3 separate regions of the Homo sapiens genome follow, and regions 1 and 2 are each linked to region 3. The links are contacts of gene promoters, found by promoter capture Hi-C in blood cells and fetal thymus (Javierre and others, 2016). All regions are on one chromosome and are shown on one strand. Each heading gives the region's core, a stretch centred on a gene start or on the middle of the fragment in contact. The rest is flanking DNA. Distances are from core to core; before and after follow the strand shown. Region 1 holds the start of ZNF354B (zinc finger protein 354B). Region 2 holds the start of ZNF879 (zinc finger protein 879). Region 3 holds the start of ZNF454 (zinc finger protein 454).

Region 1 (4,886 bases), core at 257-2,756, 81 kb after region 3:
ATGAGGATTCTCAGGGGTGAAAAGAGAAAGTATTCCTGCGAAGGACAGGAACGGAGACATGGGTGAGTGGAGGAGGCAGGGATTTTTCCCACGTGTGTACGTTTGCTCTTAGTGACAGACAGACTTGTGGTATCTTACTTGTCAAACTAGTCACACAATGGATGAAGATTCGTGAACAAACTGTTAATTAAAAACCACTAGACACGGGTGGGGAGGGTGGGTGGTCCTCCCTACAGAATCCACCAGTCATGAGGGCGGACCAGCTCCTCCAAGAGAAAAGGACTTGGGCTCCATCCTGGCTGGAGATGGTCCCGGGTGAAGAACTCCAGTTAGTGGGGAAAATCCATCCACTGGGATCTGGGAGGGCAATGAGCTCACCTGGGGCCTCGCTTCCCGCTGCCCAGCAGCCATGTCCTCTTTCTGGCTCTCCCGGGAGGACGGCGCAGTCTCCAGAAGGCAGATCTGAGAAGAAAAAGGGAGCCAGGAAGAACCCCTTCTGCTTTCCAGCCCTGGAATCCGCAGCTCTAAAACCCCGACTCCCGCTGAGAAGGACCCCGCGCGCCCTCACAGGGATTCGGGAGGAGCCAGGAGCCCGCGGACCAGAGCAGCGCTGGGCCGCCCGGCCAGGCCCAGGCCCCACAGGCTTGGGGCTTACGGAGGGGACGCTGGACCCGCAGTGGCAGCAGCGACCCGCTGAGCCCACCAGGGCCAGGGCTCGCCCCACGCCGCTGAGTTCCTCGGCGCCAGCTGGCACTGCCAGCACCCACTGCACCGCTCAGGAAACTGAGGCAGCGCCGGGGCACCTGCCCCGTTCACGCCGCTGCGAGGCGGGCCGGGACTCCCACCACGACGGCCCCGGGACGACTTCCCTCCGCCTCAAGCCTTTCCCAGCCGGTTCCTCTCTCTCCCGCCAACGAATCGTCTCCCGACTCCACGGAAAACGGCTTTGAAGAGGAAAGCGCTGGGTGTCCCGAGGCAGGAGGAGTGGCCGTCCTGGGGACTGACTCAGAAACCGGGCCCGGCTGCCTCTGCCCTGCGCTCGGGGTCCCGGCGCCCCGAGTCCGCGAGGCCCACACGGCGCGCGCAGGGTGGGCCCGGGAGGAAACGCCTGGCCCCGCGTTCACGGCGGGCGGCGCGAGCCAGAGGCAGGGGCGTCGGCAGCGGCACCGGAGCGGCCCGTGAGGGGCGAGAGTCCAAGTCCTGGCGCGGGGGCCGGTGACAGACGCGGGGGTGCCCCCCCGCGCCCACAGAGGCCCTCGGAGCCCCGCGGCCTCAGGTCGCCCTGGCGCCAGGCGCCGCCTCCTCCCGGCACAGCCAGCCATGCCGCTCACCTCCCCAGGATCCCGCGTTCCCGGGCCGCGCCTCCCCGCCGCACTCTGCAAGCAGGAAGCTCCAGCCTCGTGACCCGGCTCCTCCGACGTCTGGGCGACCTCAAGCCCGGCGCCGCTCACCGGGCAGCGAAAGCTCCGCAGAGCGCCTGGGACCTAGAGGAGCAAGGCGGCCGCTAAGGCCTCTAGGAAATGGAGTCCACGGGAGGACGCTGGCTTTCTGGGAAGTGTAGTTCCACGCGTTTGAGGCGAGGTCGCAGCTGAGCTGTTAGGCGCCCAGACCTATGAGAGGGCCCGGGTGAGCTGTAGAGCCCCGGGTTCCTGGTTCTTCGGAAGAGAAGGGGAGGTTCCCGGAGGGCAGTAACTTGCAACTCTGTGTGTGAATTTCAGGATGGCGTGGGCGGCACGAAAACAACTACTACACAATTGGGAAAGGAAAATCCCCTGCAAAAGATGTTGACAAAGCTGGATTTCCACGTGCAAAAGATGAGCCTGTACCCTGACCGTACACCATACATAAAAATTAACTCAAAATTGATTAAAAACCTAAATGTGAGACCAAATTATTTTATAAATTACTAAAGTAAAAAGGGAAAAAACTTCAGGATGTTGGAGATGGCAATGATTTCTTGAATATGACATCAGAAGCACAGATAACAGCAAAAATAGACAAATGGGACTACATCAAACTTAAAAACTTTGGCTAATCAAAGGAAACAAAGGCAATCTACAGAATAGACGAAAATGCTTACATATCATATATCTGATTTGCAATGTATCCTGGATTTATATGGAACTTTTACAACTCAACAACAATAACAAAACCAAATAACCTGATTTTAAAATGGACAAAGGACTTGAATAGGCAATTCTCCAATGAAGATATACAAATGAGCAATGAGCAACAAGCATATAAAAAGATGGTAAACATCTCTAGGTATAAGAGAAATATAAACCCAAACTCAATGAGAAATCACTGCACCTCCATTAGGATGGCCACTATCAAAAGGATGTAAATTGGTACAATCATTACAGAAAACGGTATAGAGGTTCCTCAAAAAATTATAACTAGAGCTACATTAGGATCCACCAATCCCATTTCTGGCTATAGATCCAGAGGAAGTGAAACTCCGTGAGATACCTGCACTCCCATGTTAGCTGCAACATTATTCACCATGGCCAAGATATGGAAACAACTATCTGTTGATGGATGAATAGATAAAGGAAATGTTTTGTTTGTTTGTTTGTTTGGGACGGTGTCTTGCTCTGTCACCCAGGCTGGAGTGCAATGGCGCAATCTTGGCTCACTGCCACCTCCGCCTTCCAGGTTCAAGCAGTTCTCTGCCTCAGTCTCCCAAGTAGCAGGGATTACAGGCACCCGCGACCACGCCCAGCTAATTTTTGTAGTTTTAATAGAGATGGGGTTTCACCATCTTCACCAGGCTGGTCTTGAACTTCTGACCTCGTGATCCACCCTCCTCGGCCTCCCAAAGTGCTCGGATTACAGGCGTGAGCCACCGAGCCCGGCCACAATGTGTTTATATACACAAAGGAATATTATTCTGCCTTAAAAAAATAAAGAAATCCTGACATATGTGACAATATGGATGAACCCGGAGGACATTATGTTAAGTGAAATAAAGAAGGCACAGAAATACAAATACTGCATTATTTCATTTACACGTAGAATCTAAAATAGTCAAAATCATAGAAGAAAGTAGCATGGTGATTTCCCTGTGTGTTAATTACCAATCTTCCCATATAGGTAATTCCATATGGCACAACTGTCCCTTACTTGTAGAGCCACGCCCACCCTGTTGCCATGAACTGCAGGTGTCCTTCCATGGTTGCTTGCCCAGTGCAAGGCCCTGTTATCTCTCTCTACACTACTCTACACTTCCACAAGCTGCTGCTTCTGTTTTTTTTTGTTGTTGTTGTTGTTGTTTGTTTTTGTTTTTGAGAGACGGGGTCTCACTATGTTGCCCAGGCTGGTCTCAAACGCCTAGGCTCAAGTGATCCTCCCGCCTCGGCCTCCCAAAGTGCTGGGATTACAGGCGTGAGCCACTATGCCTGGTGTAAAAAAGATTTTTTAACAAAAATGAGATGTTTTATTGTCTTCTCTTTGCAATTAGAGTGAAAGCCAGAATCCTTGTTGTGGGCCCTAAACCATATGGCTTTTGACTCCTTTTCCAGTATCTACTGTTTTTCTTCTACACTCTGCTTCTCAGCACAAAGCCGAATGTGTTGCTGTCTTCCATAAAAATCCTTCCTCCAGTCGGGTGTGGTGGCTCACACCTGTAATCCCAGCACTTTGAGAAGCTGAGGCAAGTGCATCACTTGAGGCCAGGGGTTTGAGACCAGCCTGGCCAACATGGTGAAACCCCGTCTCTACTAAAAATACAAAAACTAGCCAGGCGTGGTGGGGCACGCCTGTAATCCCAGCTACTCAGGAGACTGAGGCAGGAGACTCTCTTGAACCCAGGAGGGCAGAGGTTTCAGTGAGCTGAGATTGTACCACTGCATTCCAGCCTGGGCAACAGAGCGAGACTCTGTCTCAAATAAATAAATAAACAAATCCTTTCTCAGCTGGGCACAGTGGCTCATGCCTGTAATCCCAGCACTTTGGGAGGCCCAAGTGGGTGGATGACCTGAGGTCAGACCAGGCTGACCAACATAGTGAAACCCCATCTCTACTAAAAATACAAAATTATCCAGGCGTGGTGGCACATGCCTATAATCCCAGCACTTTGGGAGGCTGAGGTGGGACAACTGCTTGAGCCCAGGAGTTTGAGACCAGCTTGGGCAGCATAGTGAGATCCTGTCTCTACAAAAAAAAAAAAATTATGAAAATTAGCTGGGCATGATGGCACACTCCTGTGGTCCCAGCTACTTGGGAGGCTGAGACAGGAGGGTTGCTTGAGCCCGGGAGGAGGAGATTGCAGTGAGCTGAGATTGTGCCACTGCACTCCAGCCGCCTGGGCAATAAAGCAAGACCAGATCTGTCTCATATAAATACATACATACATACATACATATATATATACACCCCAACCCTCAAAAGCCAACAGCCAACAATGATGTAAAAAATTAAAAACTCAACCGGGCACAGTGGCTCACGCCGGTAATCCCAGCATTTTGGGAGGGTGAGGCGGGCAGATTACTTGAGGTCAGGAGTTCGAGACCAGCCTGACCAATATGGAGAAAACCCGTCTCTACTAAAAATATAAAATTAGCCGGGCATGGTGGCACACGCCTGTAGCCGAACTACCCGGGAGGCTGAGGTGGGAGGATCGCCTGAGCCCAGGAGGTTGAGGCTGCAGTGAGCCATGATCGTGCCATTGCACTTTAGACTAGGCAGCAGAGTGAGACCCTGTCTCAAAAAGAAAAAACAAAAAACCAAATTTGTACTTCTGCTCTGGGGAAAACAGACATGTATTTCCCTACTCTTTTCACTAAACACACTACAAATCTTCACTATTGTATCTAAAACAAACATAAGAAAACTCTGAAAAGTAGAGAGAAGCAAGCCACTGGCAATGGCACTCAGTCAGACTCAAG
Region 2 (4,672 bases), core at 460-2,959, 83 kb before region 3:
TTGTCAAAAAGCATGAGACTGGGGGCCGGGCGCGGTGGCTCACGCCCATAGTCCCAACACTTTAGGAGGCTGAGGCGGGCAGATTGCTTGAGGTCAGGAGTTCAAGACCAGCCTTGCCAACTTGTTGAAGCCTGGTCTCTACTAAAAATACAAAAATTAGCTGGGTGTGGTGGCACACATGCCTGTAGTCCCAGCTACCAGGGAGGTTGAGGCTGCAGTGAGCCATGTCCGTGCCACTGCACTCCAGCCTGGGTAACAGAGTGAGACCCTGTCTCAAAAAAGGGAAAGAAAAAAAAAAAAAAGCATGAGACAGGCTCTGAGGCAAGGGAAACACCTTCCTTCCAGAGTTTCTCAGCTACCAAGCCCTCTGGTCCTTCCCTGAGCTTCACTGGGTAGAGAAGCTCAACAACAGATGAAGAAGTTTACCACGTCTAGACCCTGAAGGCAGTTCAAGCAAAAAGAAGCCTTCACTCACCTGTACATGGGCTGGCAGCAACCTCCTTGCCATTTCTCCCTCCCTGCTGCCTCTCTTGGAGAAGGCACCTGGAATGGAGAAAAAAGCTGTGAGGTCTTTTCATCCAGCCTGCATGCCCACCCTCATTAGGCCAGACCAGGTTAGAAGCCATAAGCTGAGCACCTGCAGAGAAGGAGCCTGGAACTGCCCAGGCCAGAGGGGCCCTAAGTCCGGCCACTTAAACCAGTGTGGGAAGCAGGTTCAGAGTCACCGGGCCTGCTACCTTTCTGCCAGTGCTTTACGATAAAGACGAAAGGAGCGAAGGGATGAAGACCATCTGCCGTGCCTTAACAGGGTCAAGGGCAGAATCAGGCAAGGCTCATTCAGATAAAGTAATAGGAAATGACACAATATTCCACACATCTGCACTTGGATGTTGTTCAATACGAAAAACAGCAGTTGAAGAACTGATGCTCTTTTTTAGGAACAGCCAACCAAAAATTAGTCCTCTTTTCTTCCTCTTGTAAGATTTACTTCCTTTATCAAAAACAGTTATCAAAGCTGCTTAAAGGTAGCGTTACCCATTCTCCCTGGCCCCAAAAAAACAAGGGCGCAAGAAAACAGCATCACTAGCTAGAAATTGATTTAAAATTTAGAGAAATGGGAAGAAACGTAGCAAGTGGACATGGTTACGGTAAATAAAAAAAGAAATAGTTAAATCACTCTAGGACTGGCTGTAGGAAAACACTGCCAAACGTGCAAGACTGCCAAAAACGAGTAAATCTAAAGTTTAAACTCCGGGAAACGGAGTAGGGGGAGGCTTAAACCCACAAACACTAAGAGCGAAAAACCGCCCGGAGGGCTCCGGACCCTGAACCGAGGCGGCATTTTGCAGTTTCTGTTCTGGAGCCGTTTCCCCCGGAGTCCGGCCCAGGCTGCGGCCCAGGAGTCCAGCGGCGTCGAAGCGCCCTCCCGGCCTCCGCCAGGCCCTTCCCAGGCCACGCCCCCTCCGGGGCCGGGTTCACCTGCCGAGGCCGCCCCGGCTCGGACGCCCGGAGCCGGGGACTCGGCAGACACGCGCAGAGGCCAGCCCTCGTCCTGGTCCCGCCGCGGCAGCCGCACGCCCCGGGCCCGCCCTCACCGGCAGCCTGTACCTGGGCCCGCCTCGGCGGGGGGCGCGCAGCTCCACACCGCACAAGAGGCGAGCGGAACACCTAATTCAGAGACGTTTCCCGTCGCTGCCGGGCGCAACTGCGCCTGCGCGCCGGAGAGCCGACGGGTTTCCCTGGCTGAACCGCAGCGTTTGTCCCTCCGGACTTCATTTCCCAGACGTCGCTGCGGCACCACCACTTACGGTGTCCGAGAGAGAACCACAGCGCCGAGAGCGGAGAACGCGGTCGGGCTGTGGAGTTCGAGAAGGCTGAAGCCGAGTCCCTCAGCTTGGGCTCCAACTACTCTCCCTCCGCTAAACCACCCATTGTATTCGTAATTAGAATGACAAAAATAGTAAGACGGAAAAGTGAGTATGAATTTTTAAATCTGGAAGACTAGCCGCTGCTGATTATTCGCAGGTGGTGACAGAACTATTACAGTCCATTCTGCGATTTTAATTAAAAATGAATTATGTCTAAATTTTATAATCTCGGCCGGGCGCGGTGGCTTATGCCTGTAATCGCAGCACTTTGGGAGGCCGAGGTGGGCGGATCACAAGGTCAGGAGACCGAGACCATCTTGGCCAACATGGTGCAACCCTGTCTCTACGAAAACACGAAAAATTAGTCGGGCGTGGTGGCACATGCCTGTAATCCCAGCTATTCGGGAGGCTGAGGCAGGAGAATCGCTTGAACCTGGGAGGCGAAGGTTGCGGTGAGCTCAGATCGCGCCATTGCACTCCAGCCTGGGTGACAGAGCAAGACTCTGTCTCAAATAAATAAATAAATAAATAAATAAATTTTTGTAATCTTTACATATTTACTGGCACTCAGAGTAAAACAAAAGCATAAGCCTAGTATTTCCCTCTTCATGGCACTCACTTCTTTTGAAGTGACTTCTTTAAAACGTAAAATAAAGCCCAACTCCCAGCGCTATCATCACAACTGCATCCTCGGTGACCGGCACTGTACACGCCAAATACTATGTGCTCAGAAAGTGTTGATTTTTAAAATATCAAACATTAGCGTTTACAGAGACAAACCTAAACACAAAGGGTACTTGAAGATAGAAAATGCAGAGAGGGACTAAGAGATATCAGGTAGATAATATGAAAAAGAAATCTTGGATCACGATGTTACAACAATACAAAGATTATTGCAATGTAAAAATAATTAAATCGAACAAAATGGATGTTTTATATTGTTAAAAGATAATAATGCACATCACTAATCATTAGGGGAATGCAGATCAAAGCAGATCAAACATCCACTGCGATTTCACACTCATTAGGTTGGCTATTATAAAATTTGGAAAAAAAAGAAAACCAGAAAACAATCCTTGTGCCTTAATGGTGGGAATGTAAAATGGTAGCGCTGCGCTGGAAAACGGTATGGCAGTTCCTCAAAAAAAAATTAAATGTAGAATTAACACATGGGCAATTCCATTTCTGGACCATATGTTATTTCTATATTTAATTATTATTTTAAAATAATAATAATAAAGATATGACAGTTATAGACCATTATTGACAAAACAACATAGCATTGAGATTTACAAAGTAAAAGGTGCCAGACTGAGTACCCATGATTACCTCCCTTTTTCTCTTCATATTCTTCAAAGTAACCCCAAACACATATAATTTTCAAAGGAGCAAATCTAATGCAACTCTAGAAAAATACCATCAGAACACCAGAAATTGAGGAAACATTTGGAAGACATGCAGGAGACAAGTGCTCTGATACCCAAAATCTAATAAAAAGATTCAGAAGAAAGCAGAGAAAATGGGGAGGGGGAATAATAACAGATTGATTACATACAGAAATAGTGATAGAGATATAGCAGAAAACACATTCAAGCTGAGGAAGCCCTGAGTCTTCAGAGTAAATAAAATGTAGGGAGTTTGGCATAATGAATGAGCTAGGGTAGGGATGGCCCATAAAAAATACATCCTCGATGAAATATCACAACTCTGAGGATAAATAGGAACCCCTAAAAGTGGCCAGAAAAGACGGAATAAAAGGTTGGCATGTGTTATTTGCTACAAGTCACAGAAGATGGAACTGCTCAAGTTGGCTGAAATGAATAAGGAATAGCAAGAAATCACTGGGGCAGACTCCGGCTAGAGAAGAATCGGTGGTTCTATGATGTCAGCAAAAACCAGGTTTTGGCCGGGGGTGGTGGCTCAAGCCTGTAATCCCAGCTATTTGGGAGGCTGAGGCAGGGCAGTTGCTTGAACCCGGGAGGCGGAGGTTGCAGTGAGCTGAGATCGCGCCACTGCACTCCAGCCTGGGGGACAGAGCGACACTCTCAGAAAAAAACAAACAAACACGTTTCTTCCTTTTCTCCACCCTGATCCTCAGGAGCTGGATGTGATGTGGATATGTAAACAAAATCTAGGTTCTGTTGAGAATTAGGAAGGCGAGAGGATATTAGGTAACCAAGAAAGTCCACTACTCTAGACGAACCAAAGAAAGTGCAGCTGACATCAGGCTTCTCAGCAACACGGGTTCTAGAAGATGGTGTGGAGCAATGTCCTCAGATTTCAAACAGAAAATGATTTGGAATTTAAATAGAGTACTATAGATTCTGTAGAATACTATAACCTTCCAATCTTGCATTGGATTGTGAGTGAAGCAAAGGCATTTGGAGGATGAATGTATTTACATAGATTCCAATTCATAGAGTATCTCTGCTAGAATTAGTAATGAATGTAACTCATTTAAAAAAAGAAGAATCCCGCCGGGCGCAGTGGCTCACACCTGTAGTCCCAACACTTTCAGAGGCCAAAGTGGGCAGATGGCTTGAGCTCGGGAGCGCGAGACCAGTCTGGGCAACGTAGTGAAACTCCATGTCTCCCCACCCCCCTCCAAAAAAAAAAAAACCACAAAAACAAAATTAGCCGGGCATCGTGGCGCACGCCTATGGTCCCAGCTACTAGGGGTTGGGGTGGGGTGCTGAGGTGGGTGAATCACTTGAGCCAGGGAGGCAGAGATAGCAGTGAGCCGAAATTTCACGACTGCACTCCAGCCTGGGCCACACAGGGAGACCTGTCCCCCCCCCCCCAAA
Region 3 (4,794 bases), core at 1,676-4,175:
TAGAACAATTTAACCAAATGTATCAGAATGTATATGCCCAAATGAATGCTGTCTCCTTCAAAGCACAGTCCATATTCTTTTTTATTTTTTATTTTTGAGATGGAGTCTCGCTCTGTCACTCAGGCTGGAGTGCACTGGCACAATCTTGGCTCACTGCAAGCTCCGCCTCCTGGGTTCACGCCATTCTCCTGCCTCAGCCTCCCGAGTAGCTGGGACTACAGGCGCCCACCACCACGCCCAGCTAATTTTTTTTGTAATTTTAGTAGAGACGGGGTTTCACTGTGTTAGCCAGGATGGTCTCGATCTCCTGACCTCGTGATCCGCTGGCCTTGGCCTCCCAAAGTGCTGGGATTACAGGCGTGAGCCACCGCGTCTGGCCCATATTCTTATTCTAAAGATGCTAGGACTGCTCAAAGCGTTTTAGGAATTTATAGGACTTTTTGGCAGAATAGTCTTTTGAATAATTTCATTGGTAAAAAAACCAAATGTCATAAAAGAAAAAGAGTCTAGTAAATCACACCTCCCCAGAAAAGTGTTCCTACAATGCCCTTCTTTGAGCTCTGTGTGAGATACTGCCCTGATATAGTTTGGATGTATGTCCCTTCCAACTCTCCTGTTGAAATGTGACCTCCAATGTTGGAGGGGGGGCCTGGTGGGAGGTGTTGGATCATGGGGGTAGATCCCTCGTGAATGGCTTAGTGCCATCCTCTTGGTGATGAGTGAATTCTCGCTCAGTTGGTTCACGTGAGATCCAGTTGTTTAAGAGTCTAGGACCTCCCACTTCTCTCTCTTGCTCCCTTTCTCACCGTGTGATACACCTGCTCCCCCTTCACCTTCTGCCATGATTGGAAGCTTTTAAAGTCCTCATCAGAAGTGGATGCTGACACCATGCTTCCTGTACAGCCTACAGAACCGTGGGCCAATTAAACTTCTTATCAATTCCCCAGCCTCAGATATTTATTTAGAGCAATGTAAAAAGGGACTAATACATGCTTTTACCACTTCAGATCCCTAATCTTACTTGCTAGTGAAAAGAGTACAGGTTTTGATTTCACAGGGACCTGGGTTCCAGTCCCAGCTGTGACATTTATGTGACCTTTAGCAAGTTATACAGCTGCAACACCCACCAGGATGAGCCGGATATGGGGCGGGGTTGGAGGGTGTTGGTTGGGGAGAGGCAACTGAGGTCAGTGTCTGGGTGGGACTGGATTGGGAATAAAGCTCCCGGTCTGAGGAAGCAAACATGCCACACTCTTCAAATCCAGAAAGCAATTTAGGGGGAAGAAACCCCCACTCACCTGGACCATGGTTGGCAGGTGGCTGACAGCCATTCTTTCTTCTCCGATGAGCCCTCTTAGGGACAGGCAAAGTGCTATGGAGGCAGGTGTGGAGCTTCACACCTGCAGGACTCCTCAGGCTAGAAGGGTCCACACACCTGCTATTAGGAGAGAACTGGGTCAAAAGCTCTCATACAGCAGTCCAGAGCGAGGCAGTGAGCATTCACATCCTGGGAGGCCTCCAGTACCCCAAGCAGTGAGTGTTTTGGTTCCTGTTTGCTCCCCATTCTCTCTCCTCCTTCTGAGGGTACTATACATTGACTTTTCCCTGCAGAAAGCCTGCTCCAGGTCCAGTTCTCATGCCTTCCACCCACCCTCTGGTCTTTCCCTTCAGCCTCACTGAGCGATCTCAAGAGAATTCTTTTTTTGTTTGTTTGTTTGAGACAGAGTCTCGCTCTGTCACCTAGGCTGGAGTGCAGTGGCACGATCTTGGCTCACTGCAACCTCCGCCTTCCGGGTTCAAGCGATTCTCCCGCCCCAGTCTCCGGAGTAGCTGGGATTACACGCACCCGCCACCACGCCCGGCTAATTTTTTATATTTTTAGTAGAGACCGGGATTTCACCATGTTGGTCGGACTGGTCTCGAACTCCGGACCTCAGGTGATCGGCTCGCCTCGGCCTCCCAAAGTACTGGGATTACAGGCGTGAGCCGCCGCACTCGGCCGAGAATTATCTCTTTAACAAGTTATTCAGCTCCAGAACCCACCAGGATGTACCCGAAAAGGTGGGAGCGCTGGGGAGAGGCAACGGAGGGCAGTGTCTGGGTTCGACTGGATTGGAAGACCGCTCCGCTCTCCCTCTGCGGCTTTGGAACAGCTGCCTTATCTGGCAGTGACAGGAGAAGAGGAAAAGGAGGGTGGTCTTCTTCCTCCTCAGAAAGGAGGCTAAGAAGGCTCTTCACTGTCGAAGCCTCTCAGGCAAACCCTTCTCTGGCCTCAGTGTTCTCACTCTCTGGGGCCCAGTCTGGGTGGCCTGGAGTCACGGGTGGGCAGAAGCGGCGTTTGTGTGAGCTGGGCGGGAGGGGAGAGGGAAGGGTTAGGAACCCTAATCACACACAGCCCCGTCCCGCCCCTGCCGCTTCGCCAGGTCCCTCGGGGGCTGTGGCAGGGGCTGCGCAGCGGCTGCCTCCGGCCTTGGCGAGTTCCTGGCGCAGGACTCGGAACCACGCCAGGCGTGTATCTATCACCTGAGAGGAAACCCTGGGCTTCTCGGAGTCCGCTCCAAGACACATGCCAGAGGCCCTGGCTCCATCTCCTCCACAGGCACTCACAGACTCGACCCTCAGCCCAGGATGACCACCCCTGGCCGTCCTCCCTCTCTGGGATCAAATCTCAGACATACATTCCGGGAAGTTTGGGGCATTCGATCAGCGTCCTCCAGAATGGACCACAACCCGCACCTCCTCGGCTTTGCCTCCGCCCTTCTCCCCAGACGACCTCACGACCGCTCCCGCTCTCCCTCTGCGGCTTTGACCACCGTGCCTGGTCAGCCCCGTGTCGCTCTTCGAGGAGCCTCTGCCGGCGGCGAGAGATCGCAAGCGCCACATCGCAGTCAGAACACAATGAGCTGGAGTCTGCAGCCGGGAGCCGAACTGCGCTTGCGCGTTGCCCTGGGAACCCTTGGGCCGAATTCCCACAAGTCTCAGGGCTGCTGCAGTTCCGCCGGCCAGACTCCACTTCCCAGAGGGACAATCGGCGGAGACAGTGCTGCCTTGCGCCTGCGGGAACAGGGCCCGGCCCCGGCGCTTTAGGCGCGGAAACTACCTTTCCCAGAGACCCCTCCACGCCGACCTCAGCGCGCTCATTGCAACTTACAGAATCGGTTCCGTTCCGTTCGCTTTAGAACCAGGTCTCTGCCTTGCACTAAGGCGCAGGAAGATGCAGATCAGCGAAAAGCTGAAGATGGGGCAAGGGAGGTTAGTCCAGGGGAGCGACGCCCGATCGCTGACGAGAGAGGATCGGGAGGGTCCGGAAGACGGAGTGGGAGGCGACAGGGCGCGTTCCTGACTGGGACCGCGCCGAAAAGGCCTGGAAGGCAACAGAATTGCCCCTTGGCCTGGCAAGCGCCCGACACTTCCAGCCTGGCACTGCGGGCGGGCCAGCGTGTGCTGGGGTGGCGACGCCACAGCCACTAACGCGTGTGCGGTGCGGGAGGACAAGGATGTCGGGCAGGGATGTCCTGCTTGGCACCTCAGGACAGAGCCCATGGTGGCTGGCGGCCCCTGGAATGTTCGGGACGCAGAACACTTCGTGCTTGGGAACTTCTCAGAGGTGGGGACGAGGGAGAGGAAGGCGCCTGGATGCCAGGAAGTCTCCATCTTGGACAGCTGGGTGGTATTTAAGAAGGTGGTATTTATTTTTGTCGACCATATTTTGCAGAGACTGGCAAGGATGAGATGATGCCTAAGAATATCCAACTGGAGATACTTAGTTGCTTTTGAATAGGTAATTTGCATGGAGCTCAGGAAGGAAAGATGAGAGGGTTTTAACTTTGTTGGTCGTTAAAAAAAATCAAGAATGTGACCTGTTTGTCACATACGGAATTGTTGGCCACGTTTTAGGAAGCAGTGTCAGTGACTACAGCATTCTGTTTGGAGTTTTATTGAAGATTTCATTCCATAGACACTTTGGAGCACTTATGTGTCAAGTGCTTGACAAGGCCAGGGTCAGCCGCTGTGCAGCCCCTGTAGCAGTTCCCAGGGACCCGGCAAAGCACCAGAGGGGGAGGATGTTGTGTGAGTATCGCTGGTAACCCTTCTCTCTCGCCTCCCTCGTGACTCCAGGTCACTCAAACTGGGCTCCAGAGAGTAAGAACCCCGAGTCCAGGGGCTGGAGAAATAGCTGTGAAAACCCTGCACTCATGGAGTTTTAATTGTACTAGAGGAGGGGTCAGACAAGTAGAAAGTATTTATCTGGTAGTGATAACACTACTGTTAGGGGTTAGGGTGTGATGGGGCGGGGAATTATTTCAAGCAGCAGTTTTGGAAGTTCTCTTTGAGGAGGTAACACCTGAGCAGAGATTTGAATACAGTGAGGGAAGAAACGATGTGACTGTATGGGTAAAGTGCCTTCTAAAGGGAGGGAACAGAAATGCTGACCAGAGAGAAGTGTGCTTGGTGAACTCCAGGCTTGGCAAGGTCAGTATGACTGGCGAGGGCCTACTGAACAAGGAAGACTGCGAGATGCTGTTGCAGGAGTAACTACAGGCCTTGAAGGAAGGAAATTTGGATTTATTTCTGTGCCTGGAAATGATTAGATTTGAAAGAGTGACATGGCTGGGCACGTTTTGATAGACGCACTGGTCAGCTTCAAAGAAGGCAGACAGTGGTGGGGCTAGAGGGGATACAGGAAGACCAATGAGGAGGCAATGACAGCAGTCCACAATTACAAGTAGCCTCCCACAATTATATAACCTTTCCACAAGGCATTTGCTTTGAGAGCCTAATGATTCTAAGATA

What was found. Contacts are between HindIII fragments. The CHiCAGO score rates a contact against its expected background, and 5 or more counts as called.
Region 1: a contact is called between the fragment with the promoter of ZNF354B here and the fragment with the promoter of ZNF454 in region 3, in 2 of 17 cell types (neutrophils and erythroblasts). The highest score is 6.2, in neutrophils.
Region 2: the fragment with the promoter of ZNF879 here is called in contact with the fragment with the promoter of ZNF454 in region 3 in 5 of 17 cell types (erythroblasts, neutrophils, monocytes and 2 more); the score reaches 9.1 in erythroblasts.

What each region holds. Positions count from the first base shown.
Region 1 is chr5:178,856,573-178,861,458 of GRCh38, reverse strand. ZNF354B (zinc finger protein 354B) reads right to left here and starts at 1,506. Exons shown (of 5, transcript NM_058230.3): 1 at 1,332-1,506; 2 at 379-462. The coding sequence starts at 411. RefSeq lists silencers at 940-1,019, 1,100-1,299 and enhancers at 1,440-1,639, 924-1,656. The HindIII fragment of the contact is 7,869 bases long and covers 1-4,886 here.
Region 2 is chr5:179,020,841-179,025,512 of GRCh38, reverse strand. It overlaps ZNF879 (zinc finger protein 879), which reads right to left and starts at 1,709. Exons shown (of 5, transcript NM_001136116.3): 1 at 1,609-1,709; 2 at 476-543. The coding sequence starts at 508. RefSeq lists an enhancer at 1,580-2,081. The HindIII fragment of the contact is 13,349 bases long and covers 1-4,672 here.
Region 3 is chr5:178,939,329-178,944,122 of GRCh38, reverse strand. It overlaps ZNF454 (zinc finger protein 454), which reads right to left and starts at 2,925. Exons shown (of 5, transcript NM_001178089.3): 1 at 2,679-2,925; 2 at 1,299-1,438. The coding sequence starts at 1,331. It overlaps ZNF454-DT (ZNF454 divergent transcript), which reads left to right and starts at 3,108. Exons shown (of 1, transcript NR_186409.1): 1 at 3,108-4,794. The HindIII fragment of the contact is 10,957 bases long and covers 855-4,794 here.